Linked DNA regions of Homo sapiens: region 1 is linked to region 2. Evidence: promoter capture Hi-C in 16 types of primary human blood cells and fetal thymus (Javierre and others, 2016). All regions are on one chromosome and are shown on one strand. The core of a region is centred on a gene start or on the middle of the fragment in contact, and the rest is flanking DNA. Distances in the headings are between cores, read along the strand shown.

Evidence for each region. The method cuts DNA at HindIII sites, captures the fragments that hold promoters and counts their contacts. A CHiCAGO score of 5 or more calls a contact.
Region 1: a contact is called between a fragment that was not itself captured here and the fragment with the promoter of ERN2 in region 2, in 2 of 17 cell types (erythroblasts and M1 macrophages). The highest score is 5.9, in erythroblasts.

Annotation. Positions count from the first base shown.
Region 1 is chr16:24,038,357-24,044,388 of GRCh38, forward strand. All of the region lies in intron 5 of PRKCB (protein kinase C beta), which reads left to right. Among named protein-coding and RNA genes, the nearest start is that of MIR1273H, 160 kb to the right of the region's middle. The HindIII fragment of the contact is 4,302 bases long and covers 2,082-6,032 here.
Region 2 is chr16:23,709,597-23,715,954 of GRCh38, forward strand. It overlaps ERN2 (endoplasmic reticulum to nucleus signaling 2), which reads right to left and starts at 3,626. Exons shown (of 22, transcript NM_033266.4): 1 at 3,499-3,626; 2 at 1,317-1,422; 3 at 920-953; 4 at 576-648. The coding sequence starts at 3,591. The HindIII fragment of the contact is 14,517 bases long and covers 1-6,358 here.

The sequences.
Region 1 (6,032 bases), core at 2,983-5,482, 330 kb after region 2:
GATGTTCAGAGCAGGCAAATGTATAAAGAAGTTTAATAGCACTTTGTGCTTTTCCAAATACTTTGATATCACACCATTCGGGAAAGGGCACGTTGTTGCCATCATGGAAGGGAAAACGAAGTCTCAGCAAGGCTGAACACCCTGACCAATGTCACATGCTGAGCAGGGGTGAGCACCTGGGCCTCTGGCCCCATGTCACAATGCCCTGCAATTGCCCATACACCATGCTGGGCACAGCCTGTACTCAGCATGGGCTTGTTGATTGATGGATGATAGAAGAGAGCCCTGATGCTGTGGCCGAGTTCTCTAAAAATAGAGCCAAGATGGGGATTTTGTTCCAGTGATTTATTGGGCTGCTCATGGGAAAAGAGAAGTGAAGGAACCATGCTTCCTTCCTCAGGCAGGGAAAAAGCTTGGCGAGAGTGTGGTCTCCGTGGAAGTCTTCTTCAGCCTGGTATCTGGTGGAATTTTGTACCAAACACTGTAGCACAGTCAGTCCCATCTTGAGGCAAGGGGGCTGTTCTGTCGTGTTCCAGGTCAGTCAGTGCTGTGGGATGACTTGTGTCTCCCCCAGATTTGTATCTTAAAGCCTCACCCCCAGTGTGGTGGTATTTGGAGCTATGGGACCTTTGGGTGGTAATTAGGGTTAGATGAGGTTGTGAGGGTGGGGCCCTCATAATGGGATTTGTGGATTTCTAAGAGGAAGAAGAAAGAGAGATCATTCTGTCTCCACCAAAGGAAGGATACAGCAAGAAGGTGGCCGTCTGCAAGCCAGGAAGTGAGTCCTTACCAGGAATTGAAGCTGCTGGTACCTCGATCTTGGACTTCCCAGCCCCCAGAACTGTGAAGAAATAAATGTCTTTTTTTCTTTTTTTCTTTTTATTTTGTTTTAGATGGAGTCTTGCTCTGTCACCCAGGCTGGAGTGCAGTGGCATGATCTCTGCTCACTGCAACCTCTGCCTCTCATGTTCAAGCGATTCTCCGGTCTCAGCCTCCCGAGTGGCTAGGATTACAGGCACGTGCCACCATGCCCAGCTGATTTTTTTTATTTTTAGTAGAGACGGAGTTTCACCATGTTAGCCAGGATGGTCTCAATCTCCTGACCTCAAGTGATCCGCCCGCCTTGGCCTCCCAAAGTGTTGGGATTACAGGCGTGAGCCACTGTGCCGGCCTAAATGTCTGTTGTTTAAGCCACCCAGTCCATGGTATTCTGTTATGACAGCCTGAGCTGGCTGATATAGTCAGTTACTGCTGTAGGCTGCTGGGGATGGAGGTGGGAAGGTAGAGTAACTTCCCAGGTGAGGAGGCTTCTGTGCAGTTGAGGACAGTTATCTGGACATAGGGGTAACTGTGAGCCATTAACAGCCATCATACACAGCACCCAGGGGATGGGTGCATTGGCCAGCATGGAGGGGAGCTGGGCAGGGTCCAACAGCATCTGGCACACTCAAGTTTCCCTTGGTCTCCTGACTGTCTTCCTGGTTTCATTGCTGGGACTCCAGCCCCCTCCTCCTTGGTCTTGGCAAGACAGATCAGAGAGGAGCGAGCACTAAAGGTTGTGCGGGGTCCTTCCCAGCAGTGCCAGGCCAGAAGTGGCCTTGTGGTGTTTGTGGAATGGCCCCACCTCATCCAGACCCAAGAAGCATGGTCAGTATTAGGATTTTCCACTGACCATCAGCCCAGGACACTGCCGTTTGCCCTGAGTGTCATATGTTCTTTGGAAATCTCAGCATCTCTAGAGGTCAAAGGTTTTCTAACTTGCCTGGCTACTGAAATTGAGCTCATATATCTGTTCTTAGTGTTTTGGCAGGTCAAGATGAGAATAAATCTGATCAGTTCTCCTCCTTTTAAAAACCCATCAATGGTTTCCCATTGTCTTTATAACAGACTAAATCTAACATGGCGATCTCATTCTTTATTCACTGTCTCCTCCCCCTTTCTTTTAATCCTTGGTCCTCTGCAGACTGCCACACACCATAAGACATCTGTGCGTTCTGTTTAGAATGTTTGCCATTGCCATCTTCTCTTTTTCTAGCAATTAACTCTTCCTCTCGATCTCGGTTCATTTTTACCATCTAATAAGCTTCCTCCAACTTCCCCCTTTCGTAGACACTCATGGTAACCTGAGCTTGGCCTTGTGAAAGGGGTGATTTTATGTTGGATTTGATTAATGTCTGCATCTCATCACAAGGCATTAGCTCCATGAGGGCGGGACTGTGTCTTGCCACTCTACTCCCAGCACCTAGCAAGGTGGGCATCACTAAATATTTATGGGCTCAATGGCTGTATGTATGAATGAGAAACCCCTGGAGGATCCTGATAGATAGATATAAGGCTTTCACTGATGGTCCCCAGATCAGTGCCTCCTAAAGTCAGGAAATGAAGGTCAACGGATTGTCCAATTTATACCATTATTCTCATGGGAGGTAGAACATGCAGAAAATCTTAAGTACCAGGTCCAACGTCAACAGCAAATGTTACTGGGACTGAGACCCGCTTGTTGGAGTCATGACCACCCTTGTTCCCTGGACAATGTAGAAAAGACATGGAGCAGTGGGATTTGTAGTATCCCAGGAAACCGTATTGACATCATGATGCCCATAGGTGTCATGAGATCAGGCAATACAATGTCCAGATCAGAGTTGTAAAATGCTCCCAAGGTTTGTGAAGCCTGCGTGTTCATACATGCAACAATAATTTTTTTTGTGTGTGTGTGACAGAGTCTTGCTGTCACCCAGGCTGGAGTGCAGTGGTGCAATCTCAGCTCACTGCAACCTCCCCCTCCCAGGTTCAAGCCATTCTCCTGCCTCAGCCTCCCGAGTAGCTGCGACTACAGGCGCATGCCACCATGGCCGGCTAATTTTTTTTTGTATTTTTGGTAGAGATGGAGTTTCACTGTGTTAGCCAGGATGGTCTCGATCTCCTGACCTCATGATTTGCCCACCTCAGCCTCCCAAAGGGCTGGGATTACAGGCGTGAGCCACCGCACCCAGCTAACAATATCTTATTCAATGCTTTTTCAATTCAGTATCTACCTATCAACATAACAACTGACATCTATTATTTATACTCCCATCTACATTACAGCCACCTCCAAATGCTTAGCCATGTCCATCCTCATATCTATCTCCCAAAAGTTGGGAGTGTTCTTAAAGAAAGCAGAAAGAACCTTTTTTTTTTTAAATGTTTCTCTTTGGAACTCCCATTCTATATTCTTACCATTATATTGTGTTATACAGAAACTTTTTAGACTGAAACATCTCCCTGACAGCCTTAGGTACTCCCAATATTGTGATATTTAAATCCTTCTTAAGATCTGACATCCACACATCAAAAGAAAAAGAGTACCAAAGAGGCTGAGTGTGGTGGCTCACGTCGGTAATCCCAGCATTTTGGGAGGCTGAGGCGGCTGTATCACCTACAGTCAGGAGTTCAAGACCAACGTGACAAAACCCTGTCTCTACTAAAAATACAAAAATTAGCCAGGTGTGGTGGTGGATGCCTGTAATCCCAGCTACTCAGGAGGCTGAGACAGGAGAATCGCTTGGACCCAGGAGGCAGAGGTTGCAGTGAGCTGAGATTGCATCACAGCACTCCAGCCTGGGTAACAGAGTGAGACTCCATCTTGGAAAAAAAAAAAAAAAAGAATTGGGAAGAAAAAGGGCAATGTAAACAAGAAAAAAAAATCCAGATAGCTTAATATTTATTTTTGTTTAACTTTTATTTGAACTTTGGTGGGGGGGTACGTGTGCAGGTTTGTTATATAGGTAAACTTGTGTCATGGGGGTTTGTGTAATATTGCCCAGCCATGCGTCAATTGCAGACAGAAAATTATTATAAACTAGGCCGCGAGGGCCCACTAGGGGGCAGTCTCTGCCTTCAAAGCCATTCCTCCTCGGAGGCTCTCTCAGGAGATGCCCCAATTTGTGAAACCACAGTACTGTCATTGCTCATAATGGAAGGTGCAGCAGAGACCAGCTACGCTCACTGAGGTCCAGAGAAAGGTTACTTCTTCAGGTCACACACAGATAGGGCCCAGTTCTGGTAGATCTCCCTTCCCTTTTACATTATTGGTTTGTAATTTTTTCCCAAGTCTTTATTTTGAACTAAGTTGAAAGAATTTTACAGCAAACACTCATTTATCCACCACCTATATTCTGTCGTTAACGTTTCCACACTTGCTTAATCACATTTCCAACTATCTCGCTCTCCATCCATCAATCTGTCTTATTTTTGACACATTTCAAAGTAAACTGCAGACACCAATTCGATTTCCCCCAAACACTTCAGCATGCCCAACATCAATAGAATTCAAAATTTACTTGTAGGGTTTCTTTTTTTTTTTTAACTTTTGAGGTGAAATGTACATACAATGATACATACAAAATTTTTTTTTTTTTTGAGACAGTCTCACTTTGTCACCCAAGCTGGAGTGTAGTGGCGTAATCACGGCTTACTGCAGCCTCGACCTCCCAGGCTCAATTGATTCTCCCACCTCAGCCTACAAAGTAGCTGGGACTACAGGCATGAGCCACCACACTCAGCTAATTTTTGTAGTTTTGTAGAGATGGGGTTTTGCCATGTTGCCTAGGCTGGTCTTGAACTCCATGGTTCAAGCAATCCTCCCACTTTGGCCTCCCAAAGCGCTGGGATTATAGATGTGAGCCACTGTGCCCGGTGATGTCTTAAGTGTACAATGGCTGAGTTTTGACAAATGCATATGACTGTCATTCTAACCCTTATCAAATTAATTCTCTTTTTTGATGTCACAGCTGCTGTTGAGGATCCAAGGGAAGGTATGAACCAGAGAAATGCCTTTATGTCCCCACACACTGCACTCATACTCATGAGCTCTGGCTATTGGGATGTCTATTATACCTAAAATCCCTTAGATGACATGAAACTTAATAGTTGTTCAATTTTTTTTGTTTGTTTTTTGAGGAGTTATAATGCAGTAAAGTAGAAACTTTGAAAATTGGAAATTCTTGTTTACAATTTTTTGTTATGTATTCATTGAAGAGCAAAATGCCTTTAAAAACTCAATACACCTGCTTTATTTTGCTTTTTTTTTAGTATTGTTGTAATGAAGAAGTTCAGTTAAATCATATCTGTCTATGGAACATCTATCATCTTTCTCAGTGTATTACTGATAGTTGTCTGCACACCCCATGAGGCCAGGGGAAGGGTCTCTTGCCCATCCTTCCTTCAAAGCCTATCAGCTTGTTAGGTTGAGGTGAGTGTCTCAGGCACTGAAGTTTTGGGATACTGGACCTAAGGAGATGTAGGGAAGCTGACGTCTTGCTATTCAGTGTTCCTTCTCTTCTTCCCTGGTCATTTAAGTCTCATGAGAATTATCAAGGCCAGGCCAGCGTCTGAGGCCTTCAGGATGTGCTGGGCGCGGTCATTGCTCCCAAATGTCTAGGGAATTGCATTGAAGTGGGCACTGCTGGGACCTGCAGGGCTGTGACTTGTGACTGCCTTTGGGGACAGTGGTCCAGCAATGTCTATTAAAATATGTATACATATGAACATTTTGACTCTCACGTTTTCCTTTAGGGAATCTATTCTCTTAAAATGAAACACCAGCGTGCAAAGAAATAAAATCTAGAACAAGCATGTTTATTGATGTTTTCTTTGAGATGCAAAGAAAACATCAGCCTAATGAAGGGGTACCCATTTTATGTGATACTAGGTAGTTGTTGAAAGCATTGAATTAGGCCAGGCGCGGTGGCTCACACCTGTAATCCCAGCACTTTGGGAGGCTGAGGAGGGTGGATCACTTGAGGCCAGGAGTTCCAAACCAGTCTGGCCAACATGGTGAAACCCCGTCTCTACTAAAAAAAATCCAAAAAATTAGCTGGGTATGGTGGTGCATGCCTGTAATCCCACCTGCTCTGGAGGGTGAGACACGAGAATCACTTGAACCCTGCAGGTGGAGTTTGCAGTGAACAGAGATCAGGTCATTCATGCACTACAGCCTGGGTGATAGAGTAAGACTCTGTCTCAAAAAAAAGAAAAGAAAAGACTGAATT
Region 2 (6,358 bases), core at 2,376-4,875:
CCTTGTTGATATCATGTGAACAAGCCTAGGCTTGCCTGCTAGGGATAAGAGACATATGGCCCAGCCACCTCTGCCAAAAGCCAACCAACTACCAACCAACTTTCAGAAACACAGCCATCCAGTTGACTAGCAGCTGACCACACATGCATGAACAAGTTCAGTCAAGACCAGCAGAAGAACCACTGTGCTGAGCCCAACCTAAATTGTCATCTCACCAAATTCTGAGTTGAATAAATTTAAGTGATGTTTTAGTTTTAAGCTCTTGAGTTTTGGGTTGATTTTTATTTAGCAAAAGCTAACTGGTATATACATTTCTCTTTAAAGCCCTCAGAGTCCTGGAGAAGGCCCTGGGATACCTCCAGCTTGATAGTCAGATTGCCCTGCAGACACAGCCAGACCTCCCCTTACCACCCTTTCAACAGGTCCCTCAGACAGCCTTCTCACAATGTGCTGAGTCCTGACTTATATCCTCTGCAGAACAGGAGATACTGACCATACTGCCTCTCCACCTCTCAGTGCTCCAGCTGACGAAAGCCCTGGCTCTCACCCATTCCCGAACACCATGGGATACAAACCATTAATCCCTGTTGTTTTTGGGTCCCCAAGATGTACAGGCTGCCATCTGCTGGGTCAGAGAGAAAGGCCATTCTGTGGAGCAGAGAGAAACAAGGAGACCAATGGGTTCTTGCCCCCTGGTTTCATGAAGGCCCCAAATTCCTTCCAATTTCTCAGCTACTAGGAGCCTGTTCTTGTAGGAAACATCATGGGGCTCCAAGACCCTCCCCTATATCACATCCAGAGCCAATTCTCTTCCCTTACTTCCAACATGTCCCTGCCCCACATACAAACTCTCTCCAGACAACTATGAGTCCCCCATCTCCCAGAAGCCTCCTCCTTAAAAGGCCCCAGGTTCACTTACTCTGTGACGTACATTGGTCCTTCGATGACGGGATCTGCAGGGACAGGGACACAGAACATAAGCAGTTTCCTCCAGACCCCACTGAAAAGCACAGCTCATATTCACTGAGCTATGGCATGACTGTGATGTCAAGCACTTGGTGTGAATGTAATGCCATCTTCCCAAAAACTCTGTCAGATAGGGTCATATCCTTTGCCCCATTTTATAGATGAGGATGTTGAGGATCAGAGAGGTAAGGTGGGTTTCTCAAGGCCACACAGCTGGTAAGCAGTGAAGCTGCCTGTAGATACCAGCTTATTGGATTCTAGAGCCCATGTTCTTATTCTCTATGCCACAGTGACTATCCCTTCACCAATCTATGGGCCCAAGGAGGGAGGAGGGACCACCTCTTGCTCACCATCCCTCAGAGTCCACTTCAGGTCCCCTGTCTGCTTGCTTAGTGCGTGGAGACTTCCATCCAAGGTGGACACCAGCAGGAGGTTCTCTGGCCTGAGAGTATGAACCTGCAAGGGGGTAGAGACAAAGTCAGCTCTCTGAGGGGTCTGGGACCACCCTTTGCTCCTGTCCCAAGCAGGGCTGGCCATGACTCCCCTTCCCCCAGATGGGGATGCAGCAGGGGAGGAAGGGTGATTGGGGAACGTGCTGGTGTCACTCATCATCTCTTTGACCCTAGAGAAGGGTTATAGTGGAAGCTGGGGGGTTCTGAGGGGAGGTTTTGGCTCCCAATGTATCTAAATTCCCAATTACTTACCTCCTTCCTCAATTCATTCTGGTTTTCCAAAGAAGACTAAAGGCCTTTACAAAATGACTTCATTGTTTGTTTTGTTTCTTTTTGTTATTGTTCTTGTTGTTTTAATATAAGACAGGGTCTTGCTCTATTGCCCAGGCTGGAATGAAGTGGCATAGTCATAGCTCACTGTGGCCTCAAACCCCTGGGCTCAGCTGATCCTCACACCTCAGCCTCCCAAGTAGTTGGGACTACGGGTGTCTGTCATCACACCTGGCTAATTTTTGTATTTTTTTGTAGAGATGGGGTCTTGCTATGTTGTCTAGGCTGGTCTGGAACTCCTGGCCTCAAGCGATCCTCCTGCCTCAGCCTCCCAAAGTATTGGGATTACAAGCATGAGCCACTGCACCCATTCTAAGACTGGTATTATTAGTTTTCCCATTCTACAGAGGAGGGAGACTGAGGCTCAGGAAAGTTAGGTCATTGGTTAGGTCATTGGCATAAAGCCACAGAGATAATAAGTGGCAAAACTAAGGACTTGAGTTGCCATCCCTCTGATTCCTATGCCTGGCCTCTTTTTCCTCTGCCACAATGTCTACCTCTTTTGGGATGCCCCTTTCTGCCTCCCCAAACCAGCCCAGCTGGTTTTGGTGCCAGGCTCCAGTGGGTCCCTTGACCCAAGGCTGGGGGGTGCCCTTGGGAGGGGGGCTGGAGCCACCCGTACTTACATCTGGCGATCCTGGGCTCACTCACCTGCTCCAGTCCCTCCTTGAGCAAACAGGGTGAGGCTGAGCTCCCAGCAGGAGGCCTAACATCCGGGTGGCCCAGCCGCACCCCTACAAAGGCCACATCCTGCTTCAGGACCCTCAGGTTTGGGGCTGGGCCACTGGTGTTGAGTGGAGGGTCAGGAAATTATCTGCTAGCCCCTCTTTCTTTCTGGGCTTCAATTTTGTCATCTGCAGCATGGCAGGAGGGAGAACGGTTTGGAGAAGAGGCTGCAGATTGGTTGCCCAGAAATGAATTTTGTTTGACCATCTAGTGCTTAAAAATTTTTCAATTAGCTGCCAATTTTTTTAAAAATTGGATGATTTCTACAAAAAAACCAAGATTTCAAATCTTTCTCATTTCTAATTTTTCCAGAGACATCCGATCTGGCCACACTGGGCTTGCATTCTTAGCTGGCAACCATGAGGTGGACCCATGAGGTGGAAGCCGGGAATGAGAGGTGCCTAACTCTACCTGATCGCTTTTGCCCCATGGGGGTTCTAGGCGGGACACCTGGATTCTTAGGCCAGGCGACTTTTGCCTCCTGGCTGCATTTCTGTAAGACTCTGCTATTCCTGGCACCGTGGGAGCAGATACTGACACTCCCAGCTCATTTATCCCATAGGTTCTGAACCTGGGGTGCAGCCATGGGTAAGGGGACCGTATTGTAAAGCCTCTGAAATTGCAAAACTGGGCGTGCAGGCTCATTTCTCAGCAGAGGGCCCTGAAGTCAATCATATTTTCAAAGGAAGCCAGGATTCCCAGAAGTTTTAAGAGGCCTGGCTTTCGTGCCCAGGTGCCCCCCTACCCCAGACTACACCTCTCCCTGCTGAAGAGGCGGGGTGCTCTGTCTACTCTTGCCTTTCCACGCTGGCAGATCTCCCCAGCTAGGTATTTGTTGGGGGCAACTGGCGGCTCCCCAAACCCAGGAGGCTTTTACTCCGTTGGGGCCGAGTTGGGACCACCCAGGCGTGAGGGAGGGAGAGGTGCCCCCGTGGCCCCGCCGCGCCCTCGCCCCAAGTGCGACGCCGCCCCCTGCGCCCCGCGACCAGACTTTGGGGACTTGGCGTCGGTCCCTGGCTCTCACCTGTGGACTCAGCGTCCCGAGCAGCAGCGCCGCGAACTGGAGCTGGAGCCCCAGCCGGGGCCACGGCCTCGACCCCCTGACCGCACTCGCCATAGCGCCTGGGCAGCTGCACGGCTGGCCAGGTCCCTGGGTGCCTCCAAGGGAGCGCTCTGTCCCCGCCCGACCCGGAGAAGGCTCCGCCCCTGGCTGGGCCTGCAACCCCAGCCTGGAGTCCTCGCCGATCCCCGCCCTTCTCATCACACTCCCAGCCGCATCCTCGCGTCCCAGTCACCCCACCAAACACGGTGGGGCGCTTTCCCGGGAGAGGGATTTTACTGAGCCCACTTATGGAGAACTTGCCACGTGCCGAGGACCGTGCCGGTTCATCATCAGTTCCTGGAGTCCTCACTGCACAGCAGGTACAAGCGGAGGCTGAGAGCCGCAGTCCCAATACAGATCCGCCTGATCTCAAAGCCTGCGCTCTTTATCATTGCACCAGCGGATCCCGGTGGGCTATCAGGAAATAGCGATTAATTGGTGAATTCAGTCGTTCGTTCAATAAATATTTATTATGGGTCAGGTAAGTGGCTCACCTCTGTAATCCCAGCACTTTGGGAGGCCTAGGAGGGAGGATCACTTGAAACCAGGAGTTGGAGACCAGCAACATAGTGAGACCCCATCTCTACAAAAAAAAATGGCCAGGTGTGGTGATGTCCACCTGTAGTTCCAGCTACTCGCGAGGCTGAGGTGGGAGGATTGCTTGAGCCAGGAAGTCAAGGCTGCAGTGAGCTATAACTGTGCCATTGCACTCCAGCCTGGGCGACAGAGAGAGACACACTCTCCAAAAATAAAATAAATAAATAAATATGCATGTATTTATTTTTTGAGACAGAGTCGATCTTGTCACCCAGGCTGGAGTGCAATGGCACTATCTTGGCTAACTGCAACCTTTGCATCCTGGGTCCAAGCAATCCTCCTCCCGAGTAGCTGGGATTAAAAATGTGGGCCAACATGCCCAGCTAATTTCTGTATTTTTAGTAGAGATGGGGCTTCACCACTTTGGCCAGGCTGGTCTCAAACTCCTGACCTCAGTTGATCCGCTCACCTCGTCCTCCCAAAGTGCTGGGATTACAGGCATAAGCCACCGCGCCCAGCCAATAAATATGCATTTATTATAAGCTATGACATGCCTGCCTGATGAACAAGATGATGAGGTCCCTGTCTTCGTAGAGCTTAGAGATTCCTATGCCTTAGATGTAAGACAACTCCGCATGGAAGGGCACCTTCTAATGGCCGTGACCACCCTTGCTCCTGGTAGATGTCTCCAGTTTTGTTCAGAGAGGGTCTGCCAGGGTCCTTGAAGGTAAGGTCCACCCTGTTTGCAAGTTTCAACTCATTCATGTCTCCTTCATCCTTGTGTAAAAATAAAAAAAAAAAAATCCCTGCTGATTTGAGGGTCATGCAGCCCAGCTCTGCCACCTTCTCCCCGTCCTCTTTGTCATCCTTGGCCCTCCTGGTCATCCCCTCACAGTTACTGAAAACTTGGTAGCTTGGCCCCTAGCCTTCATCTCCATCACAAATCCTGCCACTCTCCTTGGTGTCTTCAATGTCCAAGGTACAGCTTAGCCAGCATTGCAGCCTCTCAGTGGGTGTACCTCTTTGGAGACCTTATCCCCCACGCCACAACTGCACTGGGCCCTTGTCACACTCAGAACCACTTTAGTTCCAATGTCCCTTTCTCTGATTGCAGCCTCCTCTCCATGCAACGGTTTCACCCTTTCATTCTCCTTATCCCTGTGCCCTGACCTACACGGTACCTTCATCCCTCAGTCTCTCTTCCACTCTGTCAGCCCCTTCCTTGTCCTTATCCTGCTTGGACCTCCTAGCTGACCATCTGAAGGAACTACACCACTGTCTTAGGCTGGGTTGAAACAGGTTGGGATTTTTGTGAAAGTTATTTCACACTAAGCCATACCAGGTTCAGAAGTTCAAGAGCAGCCTGGGCAACATAGCAAGACCTCAGTCTCTACAAAAAATAAAAAATAAGCCAGGCACGCTGGTGTGCACTAGTAGCCCCAGCTACTTGGGAGGCTGAGGTAGGAGGATCCCTTGATTCCAGGAGATCCAGGCTGCAGGTAGCACCACTGCTCTCCAGCCTGGGCAACAGAGTGAGACCCTGTCTCTAAAAAACAAAACAGGCTGGGCGCGGTGGCTCATGCATGTAATCTCAGCACTTTGGGAGGTCGAGGTGGGTGGATCACCTGAGGTCAGCAGTTTGAGACCAGCCTGGCCAACATGGTGAAACCCTGTCTCTACTAAAAATACCAAAATTAGCCGGGCGTGATGGCGCATGCCTGTAATTCCAGCTACTTGGGAGACTGAGGCAGGAGAATTGCTTGAACCCAGGAGGTGGAGGCTGCCGTGAGCCATGATCGTGCCATTGCACTCCAGCCTGGGCAACAGAGTGAGACTTTGTCTCAAAATAAATAAATAAATAAAAAACAAGACAAAACAAAACAAAAACAAAGAAATATGTACATTATGAAGTCTTTAGTTTACTTGGTTGCTCTTTCATGCTTAGCTGTTCCAACACCCCTAAATTGGCCCAGTACTCCTAACTTTATAACAAAAGTGATTGTTTGCCATTGTAGAACCTAACCCAAGCTATTGAGTGTGTGAATGAACCCTCCTTTCTGCTCTATATTTTGTACACTCTGCATTGTTTTGAAATGTACATTGTGTTTACTATGCTTGGATTCAGGCATTTCTCATGCAAAAAATTTGACTTGCATAAAATACAAACTGCAAATGAACTGGAATAAATTGTGTGTGTGTGTGTGTGTGTGTGTAATGATAAAAGCAATATACATTCTAGAAACTT